Regions from separate parts of the Homo sapiens genome. Here regions 1 and 3 are each linked to region 2. The links are contacts of gene promoters, found by promoter capture Hi-C in blood cells and fetal thymus (Javierre and others, 2016). All regions are on one chromosome and are shown on one strand. The core of a region is centred on a gene start or on the middle of the fragment in contact, and the rest is flanking DNA. Distances in the headings are between cores, read along the strand shown. Region 1 holds the start of PPP1R8 (protein phosphatase 1 regulatory subunit 8). Region 2 holds the start of SNHG12 (small nucleolar RNA host gene 12). Region 3 holds the start of TMEM200B (transmembrane protein 200B).

Region 1 (3,078 bases), core at 295-2,794, 750 kb before region 2:
GCCCCTCTGCCCGGCCACCACCCCATCTGGGAGGTGTACCCAACAGCTCATTGAGAACGGGCCATGATGACAATGGCGGTTTTGTGGAATAGAAAAGGGGGAAAGGTGGGGAAAAGATTGAGAAATCGGATGGTTGCTGTGTCTGTGTACAAAGAAGTAGACATGGGAGACTTTTCATTTTGTTCTGTACTAAGAAAAATTCTTCTGCCTTGGGATCCTGTTGATCTATGACCTTACCCCCAACCCTGTGCTCTCTCCACTCAGGGTTAAATGGATAAAGGGCAGTGCAAGATGTGCTTTGTTAAACAGATGCTTGAAGGCAGCATGCTCATTAAGAGTCATCACCACTCCCTAATCTCAAGTACCCAGGGACACAAACACTGCGGAAGGCCACAGGGTCCTCTGCCTAGGAAAACCAGAGACCTTTGTTCACTTGTTTATCTGCTGACCTTCCCTCCACTATTGTCCTATGACCCTGCCAAATCCCCCTCTGCGAGAAACACCCAAGAATGATCAATAAAAAAATAAAAAATAAAAAACCAGAGGCCCTGCTAATGGTCTCTTAAAACCAGCTGGTGATCTAGGGCAAGCGAGCAATCCTTATGCTTCCTTGCCCTATAACCAAAAGCAAAAAATCCTTTTTAAAAAAATTAACCATTTGAGCCAAGCACAGTGATGATTTGGACCCCTGCTTTCTGACTGGACCTGCTCCTGGCTCCTGCTTGTCCAGAGTTTTCATAAACAGACTAGGTGACCCCTAATGCAGATTCCCTGACAATCTACAGGCCTAAACGTGAATTAGAAAAAAGTGAGTAGGGTGCCACTTTTTGGAGAAGGGCTGAAGAGAAACAATAATCACTCCAATCTCCGAGTTTTGCCCTTTAGCTTCTCCGCTTTGAGGGCAAAAGGCTGACGGTCTTAACCTAAACTCTGGAGGAGGATGTAGTCCCCAGATTTTTTCTTTCTTTACTTTTTTTTTTTTTTTTTTTGAGACGGAGTCTCGCTCTGTTGCCCAGGCTGGAGTGCAATGGCGCGATCTCGGCTCACTGCAACCTCTGCCTCCCGAGTGCAAGCGATTCTCCTGCCTTAGCCTCCCAAGTAGCTGGGATTACAGGCATGTGCCACTACACTCGACTAATTTTTGTATTTTTAGTAGAGACGGGGTTTCACCATGTTGGTCAGGCTGGTCTCAAACTCCCGACCTCAAGTGATCCGCCCGCCTCAGCCTCCGAAAGTGCTGGGATTACAGACGTGAGCCATCGCGCACGGCTTAGTCCCAAGATTTTAGAGCCAAGAAGCGTTTGCAGGAGGACGTAGGGAAAGACTGACTCCCCTCCCTACAAAGCCCCTTTTCCTTTGACACCTCCTGGCCAAGGAAAACCCTAACCACTGGAGACTTCCAGAGACGGCCAACTCGCACAAACGCTGAAAAAAAAAAAATCCCAAAAGCTCCTCTGTCCCCACTAGAAGCACCGCCCCCCGTACGGGCGTGCGTGAGCGTGCGTACGCACAGGCTGCTGGGATGCCGCTTTTCCCTTCTCGGTCTTCCAGTTTCCCGGCGTGCTTAGGGCGCGCCAAATGGGAGGGGGAGACGCAAGATGGCGGCAGCCGCGAACTCCGGCTCTAGCCTCCCGCTGTTCGACTGCCCAACCTGGTGAGTGGCGGGGCGGCCAGGGCTAGAGTGGCCCGGCCGGAGCTAGCCTGGGCTGGAAGGGCGGCTCTTTTTTTACTTTTCTGCTGCGAGCCGAACGGCTCAGAAACCCCGGAATGGTTGAGGAAAAACTGTTTGCTGCACCGGGCCGGGCGACGTGTTGAAGAACCGAGAGCCTGGAGCCCAGGCCCAGGAACTGAAGAAACCCGGGGTTGGGGGCTCAAAGGCGCTCACTTAGGCAGCCCCTTTGAGCGATTAGCCAGTCGCCGGAGCGCTTCGAGGCCTTGGCCCGAACTTACGCCCAACTCTTGACTGAGTGCCTGGTGCTCTCGTGGAGCATCGCATCTGGCCCCTTCCTGTACGTCCCGAGCGCGCTCGAGCCAGCCCCGGCCCCAACCCTACCTCCAAGCCCCGCATCCCTCTGTGGTTGCTGCATCCCTCGTGCGGCACTTGTCTGTCTGCCACAGAGAATACGAGGGTAGGTTAGCGCCATCCCTGCCCTCAGGGAGCTCCCAGTCTGTGGCACTAGTAGGCATTAGTAATGGTTGGCATGAACCCTTTTTATCCCTTCGAAAGTTCTTGGGAATAATGAAATAATTTAATTTGGTCTTTGAGTAGGGTACAAGTTGAATAAATATGAATTACCTTACAAGGAAACGCTTCTGAATTAAGAGTTTTTTTCTGCTGTAGCTCATCGCAGTGTATTGTTTGTTGCTTGTCTCTGTCTCCCGTTGTATTGCCATCCTCAAGGGCAAAGACTGCATCTTTGTATTCCCAGCTCCTAGGCCTGAGTCAGGCACATAGTAGGAATTCAGAAAGTATGTTTTGGATGTAACATTCCTCCTTTTTCCTGGACAAAATGGCCTTTTGTCCGGTGCATTGTCCTTTCCATAGAGGAGGGGTTGGGGCAGGATTGTGAGATGACTGTGTTGAATCTTCAGTTAGCTAGACAAGGATACGTTTTTTCATGTGCAAATCTAAAGGTTCTAGTGAGGTGGTTCTTTTTTCTAACTTCAAATTAGCAAACCCAAAAAGCAAGCAAATGTGTGGCTATTTTCTGGATCGCTTTGCACTTTTGTAGTAGTTGCTTCAGTCTACAAATTCTGTATCCATTTTGATCCCTCGCTGTATTGATTTCAAATTTGGGCCGAGATAGCAAACATAGTTAGAAAGCACTGTTTTTGAGATCACCTACCCTTTCCTTAGGATCTGGTAGGTACCAGGCACCGTTAGGTGCTTTGACATATGAGTCTCCCTTGAATGGTATGGCTGTAGGATATAGAGGAAACGTCCCCTAATCATGCTGTTGTAGAAAGACCTGTTTCAAGGGTAACATATTCATTTGGTACCTGGTTTCATGGGGCATGATTTTGAATTGCCCTAGTTCCCTAATTATGCACCTCTGATTTGGTTTCAGAGCTCAGGAC
Region 2 (3,141 bases), core at 484-2,983:
AGACCGATTAAGTTACTTCCTGAAGGTCGCTTAGTCACTTAGCGAGGCTGAAAGCAACAAGCTGGGATGCACGCAAGGGTCTGAATGCCTAAAACCCGTCCTTCTGAAAACCGTGTCTACCAGGGCGACCTCCAGAGGTCTCGCGCGTAGTCACCAGTCCCAAAATCACCTAGCTGGTAAATGTCACAGATTCAACTGGAGGCCATCCTGACACCAGCATGCGGCCTCCCCCTGAATTAAGACACTTCAGGCCCAGGGATTCATCCCCGCATCCCCCAGGAGACCGGTTCCCAAACCCCCACCCCTTCCGTAAACCCGGCCGCCTGCCTGCAACACTCACCTGTCAGCCCAGAGCGCAGCGTTGCGCAGTCCGAAGCGAGAGAAGGGCGCGGCCCCCGCGGGCTCCCGCCCCTCTCACTGCCGAGGGGGCCTTTCGGAGCTCGGGCCCACCGGGTTGGAAGGCCCGGCTCCTCCGTGCCACATTCACCACCATCTCGAGGCCGTGGGAGGAAAAACCCGGCGAGTGCGCGCCAGCAGCAGCGACTAGCGGGGAACGGCGCGCAGGAAGGCAGGCAGAGGCTTGCAGCTAGTAAGTCGACACCGGGAATGCGGCGGGGAGAAAGGGCGCTGAAGCCGCGAGCAAGAGCTTATATAGGCCGCCCCTCGCGGCCACACCCGACAGTAGGCCGCCCGCGTGGCGCACAGCTGCCTGGGAGTTGTAGTTTGCTCGCCCCGGCGTTGTCCGCGCGTCACCTCCCCAGCCCTACGCGCGTGTCCATCCCGAGCCCGCGAAGCGAGAACCGCCAGAGGCTTTCCTCCGAGCGGAAGAAGCGCCTTCACCTTTCAGTGCCCGGCGCTGGGCCCACGCAGGAAGCCGACCCGCCTTGGCCTCTGGAGTTGTCTCTGGGATGTCTTTCAGTCTGGAAATGAACCCTGTGTGCTGGGAAAGGGCTCGGGCTCCGCTCCGAGCTCAGTGGGCGTGCGAGCGAGCAGCGCCTGAGTGGGTTTCGGGGAGGGGGTCATACTCCCCGAAAGGCGATTTATTCAAGGCTTGTCTCTTCCACTAATATGTAATTTTACTGAGCGCGTGCTATTTTAACTGTGTCTGATTATCTGATCTAGTTTTCATAAAAACCCTGTGTACGCTCTGTGGACAAATAAGGAAACTTAGGAATGGATCACACAGCTATCGCAAGCGAGGAGAGGACTGGAATTTGGAGCCCACCCCAGGCACCACACATAGCGCAATGTTTTGCCCATGGAATGAATAAGCCTCAGTATGAAAACTTAGTGGTGATTGCCGAGAATTAAACACCCATCCTGTGCCTAATCTATTAATTTTTATTCTTACATACACTTTTTTGTTTGAGACAGGGTCTTGTTCTGTTGCCCAGGCTGGAGTGCAGTGGCGTGATCAAGGCTCATTGCAGCCTCGACCAACTGGGCTCAAGCAATTCTTCCACCTCAGCCTCCCAGGTAGATGGGACTACAGGTGCGGGCCAACTTTCCTTGCTTACACTTTAAAAAGTAGGTACTACTGCCGGGTGCGGTTACTCACGCCTGTAATCCCAGCACTTTGGGAGGCCAAGGCGGGTGGATCACGAGGTCAGGAGATCGAGACCATCCTGGCTAACACGGCGAAACCCGGTCTCTACTAAAAAAAAATACAAAAAAAAATTAGCCGGGCGTGGTCGCGGGCGCCTGTAGTCCCAGCTACCCGGGAGGCTGAGGCAGGAGAATGGCGTGAACCCGGGAGGCGGAGCTTGCAGAGAGCCGAGATCGCGTCACTGCACTCTAGCCTGGGCAACAGAACGAGACTCTGTCTCAAAAAAATAAAATAAAATAAAAAGTAAGTACTACTTTAGCAGGTCGTGGGGGCGCATGCCTGTGGTCCTGGACTCCTCTCTTTCTCTAACATCACATGTCCAAGCCATCAGCAACTCCTGTGTGCTCTACCTTTAAAATGTATCAATAATCTGACTGTTTCTTACCCCTTCCACTGATGTTACCCTAATCGTTGACCCAGATGATAGCAATAGTCTCTTATCTCCCAGATCCTGCTGTTGCTCCCGACAGTCTGGTCTCCACACGCCAGCCAGCCTGCTAAAAGTTTTTTAATTTTTATGAAGTCTAAGAGTCAATTTTTTTTTTTGTAGTTTATGCTTTTTTTTTTTTTTCTTGAGACGGAGCTGCTCTGTCGCCCAGGCTGGAGTGCAGTGGCGCCATCTCAGCTCACTGCAAGCTCCCGCTCCCGGGTTCACGCCATTCTCCTGCCTCAGCCTCCCAAGTAGCTGGGATTACAGGCGCCCGCCACCACGCCCGGCTAATTTTTTGTATTTTTAGTAGAGACAGGGTTTCCCCATGTTGGGCAGGATGGTCTCGATTTCCTGACCTCGTGATCCACCCGCCTCGGCCTCCCAAAGTGCTGGGATTACAGGCACGAGCCACCGCGCCCGGCCGTTTGTTTACGCTTTAAAAGCTTAATAATTATGCTGGGCGCGGTGGCTCCCACCTGTAATTCCAGCACTTTGGGAGTCCGAGGGGGCAGATAACCTGAGGTCAGGATTTCAAGTCCAGCCTAGCCAACATGGTGAAAACCCGTTTCTACTAAAAATACAAAAATTAGCTGGGCGTGGTGGCAGGCGCCTGTAATCCCAGCTACTTGGGAGGCTGAGGCAGGAGAATCGTTTGAACCTGGGAAGCGGAGGTTGAAGTGAGCTAAGATGGAGCCATTACACTCCAGCCTGGGCGACAAGAGCGAGACTCCGTCTCAAAAAAAAAAGAAAAAAAGTAAAATTATTAAACTTTTTTTTTTTTTTTTGGAGATGAAGTCTCGCTTTTTCGCCCAGGCTTGTGCAGTTTATTCTGTGTCAATTATGCCTCAATAAAGCTGTCAAAAAACCATTAAGAAAAAATGTATATCTCCCAGGCGCAGTAGCTCCCACCAATTCGGGAGGCCAAGGCAGGTGGATTACCTGACATCAGGAACTAGAGACCAGCCTGGCCAACATGACAAAACCCCATCTCTACTAAAAATACAAAAAAAAAAAATTACCCAGGCATGGTGACACTCATCTACAGTCCCAGCTACTTGGGAGGCTAAGGCATAAGAATCGCTCGAACCTGGGAGGCAGAGGTTGC
Region 3 (3,461 bases), core at 314-2,813, 540 kb after region 2:
TCCCCCCTACTGTGCTTTACATACCGCAGCGCGGGAGGAGGGGGCGTCACCGGCTCCAGCCTCTCCCTGCCCGCCCCCTCCTTCCAGACCTCCTCCGCCCGCAGCGAAGCTGCAGCAGGAGCGACTTGAGCTAGACACCGGGAAGACCGCTCGGATCAAGACCAGCCAGGCAGAGGAGGAGAGGCGGCGCCGACTTCGCCCAAGATTTCCATCAAGTCCACGCATGAGAGGCCTCTCCCTCCCCCAGCGGTCGTGCTGGGGCCACGGCAGCAGGCGGGGGTGCCGGTGCCGGGCGCTGGGCCCCGCCGGACGGATGCCCTCCCGGCTCCCCCGTCGGCCCGGGCAAGGCTGTTCCCAGGTTGCGACGTTTCCAATTCGGGCTCCTCCGGATGAATCATCCCCCTTTCCCGCCGCCTGGCCTCCTTTCCCGCCTCCTCCGCCCGAGGCCTCCGTGGCCCGTGGCCCGGTCAGAGCAGCACCGCCCCTGCGCCTCGGGATCCGGGCCGCACAGCTTAAGCCCTCCCGATTGCTGGCCGCGCCCTGCCTGCGGCCTGTGGCCTGGATCCCGGGCCCAGCAGGAGTAGCCGAGCTGCGTGCGGTGTGGCCCCCACGAAAGGGAGGGCGAGGGAGAAGACGCGGCCCCCGCCCAGGCGCCCCAGGCCGCAGGAGAGGAGGCTCAGGGCCTAGCTGTCCAGGGTCGTCCTCACTGCTCGCGTCCGCTTCCTAAAGAACCACCGCGCTGGAGCCCGCAGCCGAAACCTCGGGGAGGCGGCCTTGCTCCCCGACCCACGCCCCATCTGCACCCCAAACCTCAAAGCAGGACACCCATCCCTGCCTCCGACTGGAGCGCTCAAGGCCCGGGCCTAGCAGGGAGCCGCCACTCTCCCGCGTCCAAAGCCTGGTTTCACAGATTGCAACTACGGCCCAGGGAGGCCGGGGAGACTGCCCGACCCCGCACTAGGCGGGGGCTCTGCCAGGTCCGACGCCGGGCTCCGGGGCCCCAGCCCTAGACCCCTCTCAGGACAGCCACGGGAGTATCCAGGAGGAAGCGAGGCCCATCCCCTCCTTGTCCCTGAGTTTGCAGCCCTTTCCCCAGCCCGCAACCGGAGGAGCGATCATCGCTTCAAGCCAGAACTGGCGCTCTCAGCCCCGGCTCCAGCAAGGTCACCCGGAGCCCCGCGCGTCGCTGCCGCGAGGGAAGCGAAAACAAGCAGAGTGGGGACATGGGGACACGCTCAGAGACCCCGAGCCGTGGAGGTAGTGGGCCGACGCTGGGGACACCAGGGAGGCGGAAACTTGGGGACACAGCGCACAGCCCGACAGAAGATGCTGGGGCCGAGTCCCCAGGACTCCAGGGTCCCGCCACCGCCCGCGTCCACACTCCCGCCTGGGGGAACGGGAGGGCCGCGCTCCCGCCCCCAGGGGCCCTGACCGAGGGAGGGAGGGAGGGAGGGAGGGACCAAACGAAAAGTTGGGAAAAGTGGAGTGCGGACCCCTGGACCCCAGCTCGGCTCACCTGGCGCCGCAGCGCCGCGCGGGTCCGGGTCCCAGTCCGCGCGCGGAGGCTCCAGAGCCGCCCGGGTCTCCACGGCCCGGCCCCAGCCCCGCCCCGGCCCCGCCTCCAGCCCCCGGGACCGTCCGACCCGCGCCGGGCCCGGCCCCACCGCCGCTGAAAGGCGGCAGCTCAGGTCAAAGGATCGCAGGTAGGCGCCCTGTGCGCGCCTGGTGACTCCGGGCACCCGTGGCCCGAGTTCTGCCATCCCCACTCTCCCACCCCCAGCTTACATCGGTCGCAAAGGCCCACAAAGGCGACCCCTTCCTACATGGGGAAACTGAGACCCGGGACCCAGGAGCCCCGACACCCGCACGTCCTTCCCCGCTTCCCAGAGCCCCTCATCCCAGGCGCCCGGGGAGCTTCCAGGAGGAGGCGGCCCGAGTCCCTGCTCTGCCCCGGTCCCGCAGCCCTTGCTGTCGCTGAACCTCGCGGACTTCATCTGTGCAATGGGCACCAAGGCTTCAGCCTCGCAAGATGCCGAGAGGCAAGAGCCAGACGCCAAGGGCCAGCCCGGGGCGACTCCGCAAAGCCCTCAGCGAAAGCAGCGCCCGGGGAGGGGCGGGCCTTGTAGCTGAAAGGACCGGACGGGGTGCGGATGTGCCGCCGGGTACTCCTAAGAACAGGCGCCCCTTCGCCAGTGGGGGAGCGGGCTTGTTCCCAATAACGGGGAGGGTGCTGAGAGCTGCGACCCCGCCGGCGAGCCCGAAGGGGGCGGCCCGGCCTTCGCGCCCTCCCGCCCCTGGAGGCAGGAATGCAGAGCGGGGGAGCCAGGGCGGCCGGCGGTCGGCCCAGTTTCCATGATGCGGGGGGCGGGTTCGGGGGAGGCGGCGACCGATTTCCAGGCTCAGCGGTCAGGCCGGGCCCCCCGGGAGGAATTTCCGGCCTAGGATTGATTAAGGCCCGCCCCTCCCCCCGGCCGTGGAGACCCCCGGCGCGCAGCCGGGGGGAGGGGCGCTAATGAGACCCGGCTGCGCGCCGCGGACAGGGAGGGGACCCGAGGAAGGGGCGGGCCAGGGGCCGGGGCCACCCCCCGACGCGGGGCGGAGCCGGGTCCCGGAGCCGCACGGCCAGGCCAGGCCTTGAACCTGAGCTCCCACCCTCTGGGTCGGCGGAGGAGAGTGGGGGTGCATCAGTGCCCCCCGGGACCCCCTCTTCCAGCTCTTAAAAGCCCCCTCGGGGGGTCGGTGAGGTAACGGGCGGACCAGAGGGACCACAGTGGGGAAGACCGAGCCTCGGCTCCCGGGCTTCATCCCTGCGAGGCCGTGTGCGAGATCGAAGCCAGGGCCTCCTTCTTGCCTCCCCAGTCCGACTGGAGGCTCCTGAGGTCTCGGTCCGCTCCACGGAGGCCTCCCTCCAGCATCTTTGCTTGGGACCCCCGCCCCCATCAATCCTCCGCTTCGTCCACTCCCCGCACACTGACCCCACCGCGGTCGCACCTCCGCCTCCCAGCTCTCCCTCCCACCCCTGGGCTCCCTCAATCCCACTCCATGCCTGCCTCTCCCAGCCCACTGCTCTTCCTCCAATAAGCCCGGCTTCTAGTCTGACTCCCTGGGCCCCTCGATCATCCCCTGCCTCCAGCTCTGTGAAGGGCCCTTTGTCCACCCAAGCACGGGGTCAGCCTTGGCCCCTTCCTCTCCCCCTCTCATCCCACTCACAGAGCCTTGGGGGCCCTGCTCTTTTCATCTGGGGCCAGCCACGTTCTCCCTTTCCCATGGCCACTGTCCTGCTCCGGCGTCCAGGCTCCTCCTGGAGCCCATGGTCTCCTGCCTCCCCGTGTCCTAGTGCGCTGCAGACAGGCAGCAAGGGTTTCCACTCTGAATCTGAGCCTGCCACTACCTGCTTAAAACCATCAGTGACTCCCCAAATCGAGTTGGAAATCTCTTCTTGTCTCCACGAACTGGCCCCG

What was found. Contacts are between HindIII fragments. The CHiCAGO score rates a contact against its expected background, and 5 or more counts as called.
Region 1: the fragment with the promoter of PPP1R8 here is called in contact with the fragment with the promoter of SNHG12 in region 2 in 6 of 17 cell types (neutrophils, naive CD8 T cells, non-activated CD4 T cells and 3 more); the score reaches 12.3 in neutrophils.
Region 3: the fragment with the promoter of TMEM200B here is called in contact with the fragment with the promoter of SNHG12 in region 2 in 2 of 17 cell types (total CD4 T cells and naive CD4 T cells); the score reaches 8.1 in total CD4 T cells.

The regions. Positions count from the first base shown.
Region 1 is chr1:27,829,238-27,832,315 of GRCh38, forward strand. It overlaps PPP1R8 (protein phosphatase 1 regulatory subunit 8), which reads left to right and starts at 1,545. Exons shown (of 7, transcript NM_014110.5): 1 at 1,545-1,654. The coding sequence starts at 1,599. It overlaps LOC124903885 (a long non-coding RNA gene), which reads right to left and starts at 2,546. Exons shown (of 2, transcript XR_007065562.1): 1 at 1,512-2,546. RefSeq lists enhancers at 1,024-1,809, 1,683-1,852, 1,810-2,594 and a silencer at 1,473-1,552. The HindIII fragment of the contact is 9,216 bases long and covers 1-3,078 here.
Region 2 is chr1:28,581,250-28,584,390 of GRCh38, forward strand. SNHG12 (small nucleolar RNA host gene 12) reads right to left here and starts at 1,734. Exons shown (of 6, transcript NR_146382.1): 1 at 841-1,734. RefSeq lists enhancers at 1-115, 116-901. The HindIII fragment of the contact is 3,732 bases long and covers 1-2,477 here.
Region 3 is chr1:29,122,340-29,125,800 of GRCh38, forward strand. TMEM200B (transmembrane protein 200B) reads right to left here and starts at 1,564. Exons shown (of 2, transcript NM_001003682.4): 1 at 1,517-1,564. RefSeq lists enhancers at 978-1,837, 1,838-2,697, 2,698-3,461. The HindIII fragment of the contact is 10,456 bases long and covers 1-3,461 here.